Regions from separate parts of the Homo sapiens genome. Here all the other regions are linked to region 3. The links are contacts of gene promoters, found by promoter capture Hi-C in blood cells and fetal thymus (Javierre and others, 2016). All regions are on one chromosome and are shown on one strand. Each heading gives the region's core, a stretch centred on a gene start or on the middle of the fragment in contact. The rest is flanking DNA. Distances are from core to core; before and after follow the strand shown. Region 1 overlaps MTAP (methylthioadenosine phosphorylase). Region 2 has its middle 4.2 kb from the start of MTAP. Region 3 holds the start of DMRTA1 (DMRT like family A1).

What was found. The method cuts DNA at HindIII sites, captures the fragments that hold promoters and counts their contacts. A CHiCAGO score of 5 or more calls a contact.
Region 1: a contact is called between a fragment that was not itself captured here and the fragment with the promoter of DMRTA1 in region 3, in 1 of 17 cell types (total B cells). The highest score is 6.2, in total B cells.
Region 2: a fragment that was not itself captured here is called in contact with the fragment with the promoter of DMRTA1 in region 3 in 2 of 17 cell types (total B cells and M0 macrophages); the score reaches 6.2 in total B cells.

Annotation. Positions count from the first base shown.
Region 1 is chr9:21,837,551-21,840,883 of GRCh38, forward strand. MTAP (methylthioadenosine phosphorylase) reads left to right here. Exons shown (of 8, transcript NM_002451.4): 5 at 358-460. Among named protein-coding and RNA genes, the nearest start is that of MTAP, 37 kb to the left of the region's middle. The HindIII fragment of the contact is 3,499 bases long and covers 199-3,333 here.
Region 2 is chr9:21,796,719-21,800,124 of GRCh38, forward strand. No RefSeq gene overlaps it. Among named protein-coding and RNA genes, the nearest start is that of MTAP, 4.2 kb to the right of the region's middle. The HindIII fragment of the contact is 2,027 bases long and covers 1,015-3,041 here.
Region 3 is chr9:22,445,120-22,448,640 of GRCh38, forward strand. It overlaps DMRTA1 (DMRT like family A1), which reads left to right and starts at 1,705. Exons shown (of 2, transcript NM_022160.3): 1 at 1,705-2,613. The coding sequence starts at 1,947. RefSeq lists an enhancer at 1,881-2,380. The HindIII fragment of the contact is 6,499 bases long and covers 1-2,962 here.

The sequences.
Region 1 (3,333 bases), core at 698-3,197, 610 kb before region 3:
TTCCACGTCTGTGATGATGAAACATTTTTGTATTGACTTCTTAAGTGTCTTACCTGGCCTTTCTGAGCCCACAGTTGAGTTGCACCTGCAATCCAAAGTGGTTACCCCGTCACGGCTGCCAGACCACAGACACTTTAATTCTTGTTGTGCGGTGTGTTGCTGCCAGCCCAGAGCCAAAAAAGCGGAATACCACCCTGAAGCTTTTGTAAACAATTGTCTTTAGCTTATCCAGAGGAATTGAGTCTGGAGTAAAGACCCAAATATTGACCTAGATAAAGTTGACTCACCAGCCCTCGGAGGATGGAAAGATGGCCTTAAAATAAAACAAACAAAAACCTTTTTTGCTTTATTTTGTAGGACCACTATGAGACCTCAGTCCTTCTATGATGGAAGTCATTCTTGTGCCAGAGGAGTGTGCCATATTCCAATGGCTGAGCCGTTTTGCCCCAAAACGAGAGAGGTGTGTAGTCTTTCTGGAAGGTGTACCAGAATAAATCATGTGGGCTTGGGGTGGCATCTGGCATTTGGTTAATTGGCAGAGCGAGTGGCCCCATACCCTCACTCAAGTTTGCTTTGTATTATGCAAAGTTTTATGAAGAGTTATTTCCTGTTGCTAATAATTTCCTGTTCCTCTGTTACTCTCAGTCATTTTAAGCTGAACCACTCAAAGTTGCAACCTACCTTTTTAATAAGTTTTGATTTTGCTATCTAGATAAAATGATTTAACATAGAATATCACATTACTCAAGAGTATGCAGTCTGGAGCCAGATTACTTAGGATCAAATCTCTGCTCTTCAACAAAGTAGCTGTGTCCAAGAGGACAAATTATTTGACATATGTGGGTTTCAGTTATCTTACTTCTAAAATGAAGATAATTATAGCATGTACCTTATAAGACTGTGTGAGGGATGAGAGAGTTAATACTTAATGAAGTCTCTGAACCATGCCTGTCAGTTATGGAACATCCAATGGCTGGTAACTGCTTTTGTGAATTAAATTACTATTATTGATCTTCTAAAAATGGTCAGATTGGCAGCTGTTGCCTTTGACCTGAGTTTGGCCATTACTGCCCAGCCTTCTGTCTACCATTATAGCCAAATCACAGAACTATGGGGACAGCCCCACAAGGGCCAGTGGTGGTATAAGGGGTGGAATCACAGTTTTAGTTCCCAAGCAACAAAAATGGCTACCATGACTAAGAAGCCTATGGCTTGGTCCACATGTGCTACTTCTCTTATAATCCCAGGTTTGAAAGTCAGGTGCAACTCAAAAGATCAGAAGTATCGTTAGAGATTAACTGCTTCATAAAATCTCCCTTATGAGTTAACTTAGAGAATATAAATACCTAAACACGTTAGTTATTCAGATAATGTTAACACCTGCATATAGAGAGTAGATGATTTCTTTTAGCATTTATGTTTTATCCTACATAATCACAGAAAACCCATTTCCTTATAGTTAACAGCAAGGGCACCTAAACTGAGGACACAGGGTTGGGAGAAATATTTCTAGTCTCAAACAAGAATTTGGAATCTAAAACCGAGTACTGAGGGAAGCCATTTCGGAGATACCACTGCGCATTGATTTTCTCTGACTTCTAGGAAAGTACGTCTTTTACTTGGTTTTTTTTTTTTTTTAAAAAAGTGGCAGGCGAAGTTTGTATATGTATGTATAGCATGTTTCTGGATAGTTATCCACAGAATGTATCAGAATGCTGCTAGTCTTCCTCTGAAGCACAGATCTGTCCACATAATAGATTTGCTATCCTGGGGGAAATGAAGTATGGATAAAATTCTTGTCCACTTCAAAATGGGGGCAGCTTGGGAAGAAATAGTCTAAGGAGAGAATATGCATGCTCGTATGAATCTGAGGTCAGTTCTCAGGCAAAATACAGTGACTTGGGGAACTAGGAGTAGAGGTAGATGGGGAAAGCACAATGGAGCTGTATAGAGCACATGTAAATGTGGGTCTGTGGTGATAATTTCCAGTAATCCAAGTTAGCCTCCCTTGAAGCCAAATTAATTCAGCTTCATAAAGACTGAGAGAATACTGGGAAAGGCAATTTAAGAAAATGGCAAAATAAGCATTCAGAAAGAAATTTTTAAATATTATCCAAAAACATGAAGAGTAAATAGTGCTGCCACTTGGTAATTTTCACTTTTAACATCCACATGATCTTTCATGTACTGATGGAATAGGACTGTCATGATGAATTGTCAAGTGGCAAGCAAGATACTCAGTGGTTGTACCATATTCTACCATTTATGTTAAAGTATGTATATATACAAAGAAGTAAGTATGTAAATATTTATATACAAATAAAATATTTTTGGAAAGTTAACAAAAAAAGCTGGTAACAGGAAACAGGGAAGATGGCAGATAAGAGACAGGGCTGGCCACCACGGTGGCTCACGCCTGTAATCCCAGCACTTTGGAAGGCCAAGGCAGGCGGATCATGAGGTCAGGAGATCAAGAACATTCTGGCTAACATGGTGAAACCCTGTCTCTACTAAAAATACGAAAAGTTAGCCAGGCATGGTGGCAGGCACCTATAGTCCCAGCTACTTGGGAGGCTGAGGCAGGAGAATCGCTTGAACCTGGGAGGCAGAGCTTGCAGTGAGCCAAGATTGTGCCACTGCACTCCAGCCTGGGTGACAGAGACTCCATGTCAAAAAAAAAAAAAAGTAAAGAAAAGACAGGGCTAACGTGCAGCTTCCACAAGGACGGACAGAATAGCATATGGAGACACTATGATCTTTTGTTCCAAGAACCACTGTAGGAACTTACCGGGAAAACCAAAAGAATTCAAAGATCCTTTGAAAGAAGTGGCACACCACTGCAAATTCTGCAAAACAGGCAAGAAACTGAGTTCCCAAAGTGTGAGTCGGGGAGAACCTACCTCTGAATACACATCCCCACTGGGGAAATCTAAAAATCCAGATCATGGAGGAAGAATTTAACCTTACCTAGAGGTGAAACGGATTTAGGGGGTTATGTGAAATATGAAAGTAGAAGTAGCAACAGGAAGTGCTTTGGATGTACTCCCAGTCTCCAGCTTGAGTCCAGGGAAGCCAGCCCTGACTATATCTCACAGTGGCCCTCAGGTAAGGCAGCCAGTGGAATTGGAGAGTGATGGCAGGGCGAAGGAAGCTCCCAAATGAAATCAGTAGTGGTTTCAGCTGGTCACAAATTTTCTCAGGCAGAGTCCAAGGGACTAATGGGAGCCGCAGCAGATACAAGTGAGTACAGGAGCTGCTGCTGATGGAGTGGGCAGGTGGGAAGGGGTGAGGTCCAAAGGCCATGCTTGCTTTCCCAGTGGGGTAGCTCACAGC
Region 2 (3,406 bases), core at 778-3,277, 650 kb before region 3:
AATTTCCTTGGGCAAATTGTGAGGGAGGTATGTAGCTTCTTATATTTGTAGCTATCTCTTCCAGGAATAAAACGGGAAGCAGGTTTGTCTAACATAGTTCCCGGCTTGACTTTTCCCTTGGCTTAGTCATTTTTTCCCTTGGCTTAATGATTTATATTCCACAGGTTCAACAAAGTATGGACAGCCATGTAGAAATATGATTGGACAAAAAGGGCATGACATACTGCTAACAGACTGAGTGGGGAAACCCAGCAAAGCTGTCTGTCTAGATTCTTCTTGGCCTCTCTGTGTAGGATTCCTTCCTTATGGGTATGAGTCAGGTCTCTCTCTGGAATGGGGGTATTATAACCCACAGTCAAACAAGATAGGTCAGACAATTTCTTCATGGCCATATTCGCATATCTTTTGGTTCTTACCCTTCACACAGAAAGGCAGAGGGAAGGTTAGAGAAATATGTTTAGGTTTTACGGCTGGCTTTAGGGAAAAGATCTTCTGGTTTCTATTATCCACCTTGGGGAAGAAGGATTCTAGTTTCTATGGTAGCATCAGGGGGATAATGGGCGTGAAAGACAGGCAGGAGAAGGTCAGAGAAAAACTTTCGCTTTTGAGGCTGCTTCTGAGGACTTCCTTTTTGGGGTGTTGTTATCTGAATCTCAACAGTGGAAAAAATAATAATTAATCAAGAGTTTAGACTTTGCAATTAGGACAGATTCAGGACTGAATCTCAATTACTTTAGTTATATAAATTTGAGAAGACTTCTTAAATGCTCTGAGCCTCATGTTCCTCATGCAATGATAGTGATAATAACACCAACACTTGTCCTTTCTCAAACATCACATCCTACCTAGAATTTAATTATCTCAATTTAAGGCTTAATACCTGTAAAATTCATAAACCCCTGGGTGAGGTAACATTTTAAGGTGATTTTGGCAACTTAACAGGTTTGATAGGTTTGATTGACATTTTGATGGGCTAGAGAGAGGGAAGTCCTGAAGATTCCAAACGGACAAGGAAGCTTTGGGGAGAGGCAAATAAGCAGAAAAGATGAAGTTACAGCAATTCAACTTCTCTCTCTCTCCTCCTCTGTAAAATGGAAATTACATTAATAGCAATGACATTAATATCTGTGAGGATTAAATGAAGAATATGTGGCTCTTAATAAATATTAGCTGTTTTGTTGTTGCTCTTGAAGATGCTCAGAAGACAAATATGACTTTGTTCCCAATTTGTTTTTAGGATTGTATGTACAGACAACATATGGATTTGCCAGAGAAGAAAAGCAATGCTTTTAGACTTATTTCCTGCCTTAAGTTTTTAAAGTGGAATAAAGAGCAGTGGGTCACATAAGAGCTCATTATATGGGTCTTTCATCATAGCTTTAGATCCTGACACGCTAAGCAGAGATTATGTTGCATCTGTGATATTAAAATACATCTGGGTATCTATTACTTTTTGGCCCTTTTCTATACAAAGCACAGAAGCTGAGAATCATGTCTCTTCAGATCAAGATTGAACATACTCTCTCTTTCACTGAGGGAGGTATAGGGTTCAGGGCTTAATCTTACACTTTGCTTATCCTATAACAGAAATAATAATACCTATTATTATTTATAATAGGTATGTGAAGATCCTGGGAGTCCAGGGTAGATGGCCATTCTGTTAACCTGAATATGCTTTTAATGTGCAGCATTAATCTAAGAAAAGTGAAAAAATGGTGAGATTTTACTTCAAAAAATCCAAATTATATGCAACTTAAGTCATCTTCAGTAGAGTTTCAGAAATGATAGGGGAGATACAATTTGAAGTGAACTTTGAAGACAAGACAAGGTGATTTGCAATGAAGGATATTTCTAGGGTAAAAGGGACTTTGAATAGAAGGAACGAATAAAGAAAACTGAAGGAGAACTTGATTCTATTGCAACAAGAAACATATGGCTAATTCCAACTATCTGGAGCATACCAACTTTAAAGCAGACTGTCAAAACTGACCCTACTTAACTCATTTTAAAGCATGGGGTTCTTCCCTCAACCAAAAACACAGATGCCAGGTTACACTTTATAACTGGACTCTCCACTTTCATTAAAGGTCATTATAAGGAATTGCCACCTAAAATGTGATGTAAATATTTTTTGAGAAACCTAGTATATCACTTGCAATTCCCTCTATAAAGTACCTGCAATAAATGCATTTTTAATATTAGATTTCAGTAATATTTTCTTCACTTGTGACATACTACTTATTTTGTTTTATCACTATGATAATGGGAGAATGGAACACTTCTCTTTGTTTTTTGTTCTTATTTCCTTAAAGTTTTAGAGTAATAGTCACATACTAACCTATAAGAAATTTAGAAAGGTTCAATTAGGCCTTCTATGACAAAAATATCTAAGTCTCTAGTTACTAAAATGTTAATGTTTATGTTGTATCATGGTCTATACTGCAGAGTCAGGGTAAAGACACATAGCTGTATTTTTTAGATCAATAATTTGTTCAGTTATTTACAATCAAGAGTGTTAAGAGAACTTGGATTGCAGACAAATCTCTTATACATTTATCCAATTATATTCAATGTTTTTTCAGAAGGGTACCTTAGGACTGGCCTGGTACATACTTGCATATCTTTTGCTTCTTAATAAACACTAGCCACTATTTTCTTTTCAGTACATTTTTTTTCCTTCTTGGGCAGGATAAAGAGAAGTTGATTATTCTGATAATTGCCTGTGGAGAAGTTTCTTTGGATACAATTTTATTAAGGGCATTGAGTCTCTGAGTTTAACTTTTTTCTTCCCAATGACCACACTGTGCACAACGATGATGTTGTGGATTTTGAACCTGAATTTATACCAGTTCAGACATCTTTGGCTTCTTCATGCTGGCATAGGCTTGCCTGGCTGAGAATCTGAAGATGCAATAATTTTTAAAATGTATTACTGTCATTATTATAATTAGTTTACTTATTGTTCCCCCAGATATTTTTTCAACAATGTTCTGCTAAATCTAGAGTGGCTGCTTGCTAATAGAACTTTAGCTTTTTCACAAAGCTTCCAATGTGGGAATCTAATCCATTGTCAAAAGTAGTGGCCAAAATGTCCCTACTCATTGTGGCTGTGATACAGGTGTATTGTAAAAAGATGTGATTCACACACCATTGGGGATCTCTAAGCACACCTCCATGTTATTTAGAATTTTTATTTTGGCCCAAATATCTACAAGGTAGTGGGGAGTTATGTGAGTTTCTTAGGCCATGACAACTTGCCAGCTTTAATACCTTCAGATGAGGATGGGTTACCAGCCAGCTTGGGCCCATTTTGTAGTACCCATCCAGGACAGACATACTGGTCAGGGGCAGAAATATAACAATTCAGTGGGAAAGCTGATATGGTTGGCTGAGGTGATACATTTCA
Region 3 (3,521 bases), core at 455-2,954:
ATAATTCTTCATTTAAATTGACAAATATTTAACTTAAATACATTTATTTAAAAACTATTTTTACTTCCTTGGAGGAAAACCAATATCACTTTCCATAATTATAAGATAACTTTAAAAATCAAATAAAAACAGAAAAATATCGCTAAACTCTAGGTAAACATTTTACTTGCTGCTCTTTGTTGTTGTTATTGAAAAACACAATTAAAAGGTATTTTAAAAATTTAAAAGACATATTTGCATTAAGCTGAACATTCCCATTATGTAACCTGAAGCTCCTAAAAAGAATAGAAAAGAAAATTGCTTTCTCGTTAGGTAATTCATTGTATTTTAATGATCCATTTAGAACTAAAAACTCATCTCTCAAAGGACGGATGTGAGTCCACAGTTAGGGCATCAGTACATTTTAGGCAGGAGTAGCTTGAACAAAGATAAAGAGTTGTGAGAAAGGTTGGATATCATAGAACCCCCAGAGGTTAGGAATTCCTTGAGTGGTAGTTCTAAACATTGTATGTAATTTTCACCTTCAGAGTTTAAGACACAGACAAAAAGAATCAGAATACATTACGTAGATTGGAGTGTCCATCTCTTTTAAAAGTTCCCTAGGTAGTTCCAGTTCTTAGGAAGGGTGGAAAACTTCTACGATAGGATGTTTGTATGAGAGGATGGTAGTGGTGGTGATGGTGTTGAGTAGGTTGGTAGGAGAAAGGCCAGATAGATCAGCAATATCTGCTCTGAATGTGAACAGGTGGAATGGTAAAAATATCATTATTAATTGCTATCTTAGGGATGGAAAATGAATAACTTGTCCAAGGTAGTTGGATACCATCTTGAAGAGCTGGCAGAGTGCTGACGCTACCTTCCATTAAGAATAAACATTCATGAATTTTCTATCTCAGATGCTCTTTTGACTTAAACGCCTTATGGTCTTTTCTTATAATTAAAGGCATTAAATTCATATGTGAAGAATGCATTCATGACAGCATATTTAAATAATGATCTAAACGACTTTCCCCAATACTTTACAATAGACATAAGTATTTTTGAAACAGCTTTAACACAATCGCTGCCTATAAATAGGCGCAGAGAAGAGTTTGATAACTTTTTTAAAGTAGCAGTATTTTAAAATAGAGTACACACAACCCAAATTCGCATGTGTAAATAAATAGAATGCATGAAAAGAATCTGAATGTGAATCACTTCCCTTAGTTATTTATCCATTGTTTTGATGCTGTCCTAAGACCCATTTAAAATAAGGCATCTTTCTGGTGGGTAACAAATTCGTAGTCTATCAAGCTGGGATCCCACTAACATTGGCCAAACTGCTGCAGACATGAAGACTTCATCTGGGAACCCGAAAGGAGAACTCAAAATCCAAATCTTCAGACTTTCTTAGGAGAAGCGTGGAAGTGGGAAAAGGAGAAATTCAAACTCTGCTTAATTTCAAAAGGGCAGTAAAAGGGGAGGCTGCAAAGGCTAGTTTACAAAAATAGACGTCGAGAACTCCTAGGGAAGCAAGTAGAAACGGGCTTTTTTTGGGGGAGGAGACATTTGCAGCCCATTGGACGGATTCCCCGCCGCCCTCCTCCCAGAAGGTCCCCACTCCCCGCCCCGGGCCCTCCCCCGGCTTCCGCGCTGGGCCGGGAGCCTGGGTGGGCGGGGTAGCCTCTCTAGCCTTGCCTTCTTGGCTGGAGGCACAAAGGCATTAACTTAGCGCCCGGGGTCTCTGCCAGGCTCACGGGACAGCTGCACCTCTCAGCGTCTCCAGCTCCAGGACGCGGTCGTCCCAACTCCTTCCGAGTGGAAAGAGTGTAAAACTTTTGTCCGTGCGCGGGTGGAGCTCAGTAGGACCACGGCGCGTCCTGCCCCGGCTTCCCCAGCCTCCCAGCAGGGTTAGCTGCGGTCAGCGCACTTTCCACTTGGGACTCCCGGCCAGAAATTTCTCGGGAATGGAGCGGTCACAGTGTGGCAGCAGAGACCGAGGCGTTAGCGGCCGACCTCACTTGGCCCCTGGGCTAGTGGTGGCTGCCCCTCCGCCCCCGTCCCCGGCGTTGCCGGTACCATCGGGGATGCAGGTTCCCCCAGCGTTCCTGCGGCCGCCCAGCCTCTTTCTGCGAGCAGCGGCCGCGGCCGCCGCCGCCGCTGCCGCCACCTCGGGAAGCGGAGGCTGCCCGCCGGCTCCCGGGCTGGAGAGCGGGGTAGGCGCGGTGGGCTGCGGCTACCCGCGGACGCCCAAGTGCGCCCGCTGTCGTAACCATGGTGTGGTGTCAGCGCTCAAGGGCCACAAGCGCTTCTGCCGCTGGCGGGACTGCGCGTGTGCCAAGTGCACCCTGATCGCCGAGCGCCAGCGCGTCATGGCCGCCCAGGTGGCGCTGCGCAGGCAGCAGGCGCAGGAGGAGAGCGAAGCCCGGGGGCTACAGAGGCTCCTGTGCTCGGGGCTCTCCTGGCCCCCCGGTGGTCGGGCATCCGGGGGCGGCGGCAGAGCCGAGAATCCACAGTCCACGGGCGGCCCTGCGGCGGGGGCTGCGCTGGGACTGGGTGCCTTGAGACAGGCCAGTGGTTCCGCGACCCCCGCTTTCGAAGTTTTCCAGCAAGATTATCCTGAGGAAAAACAAGGTGAGTTGGTCTTTGATTTACTCTTTGCTCAAGGAATGGTTGTTCTGGAAAGAAACTCTGAAACAAGCCACCGTGTCCATAGGCGGGCAGGAATAGTTGTTTAAAAGAAACACTTTAAGTTTTGGGGAACTGCTCAGCAATATGGACATTAATGAGAGTGTGAGAGACCCCATCGCCTTCACTTTGGAGGAATTTACTGTTGTTCCCTCAGGTGATAGGATGAGATAATGAAAAAATGAAGCATGGGTGGTAACAAATGAGCAATTCACCCTAGGAGTAGAGTTATTTACTCGGAAGTTGATTTGACTTTCACTGTGTGAGTAGAACTTCAAGCAGGCATTGAGCGAAAAGCTTCGTAAGAGGTGCTGTGTTTGAGTCTGCTCTGTACTCTTTCCAGACAGGATCTCACTCTGTTGCCCAGGCTGGAGTGCAGTGGCGCCATTACAGCTCACTGCAGCCTCAACCTCCCCAGGCTCAGGTGATCCTCCCTGCTCTGGACTGTTTTCAGCTGTAAAACCAGAGCTGATTTTGCGTGGGAAACTCTGATAGTTGGGGATGCAGTTCTTTACTACATGTTGGGGCAAACATTTGTTGCAAGCTTGATGTGGGGAAGAGACTGAAATCTACCAAACCATCGTCTTTCTTTGTTTCTTCACTCTAAATTGTTTTCGCAAAATGTAATTTGTAAAACCATAGGTAAGAATTTCAAAGTTCAATATTAGAGGTTTTTTATCCAAGGAGTTTTCATTATTTTTCTCTTATTTTTTGACTGCGAGTCAGTTGCCTTCATTTCCTGCGTTAGGAGATATATTTTAGTGAACTTCATAGCCCTCCACAGGGCCTACTAAGCAGTGAAAATATCATTGTGATTTTTTTTTTGTATAAGTCAAAAACTTATACAAAACTTA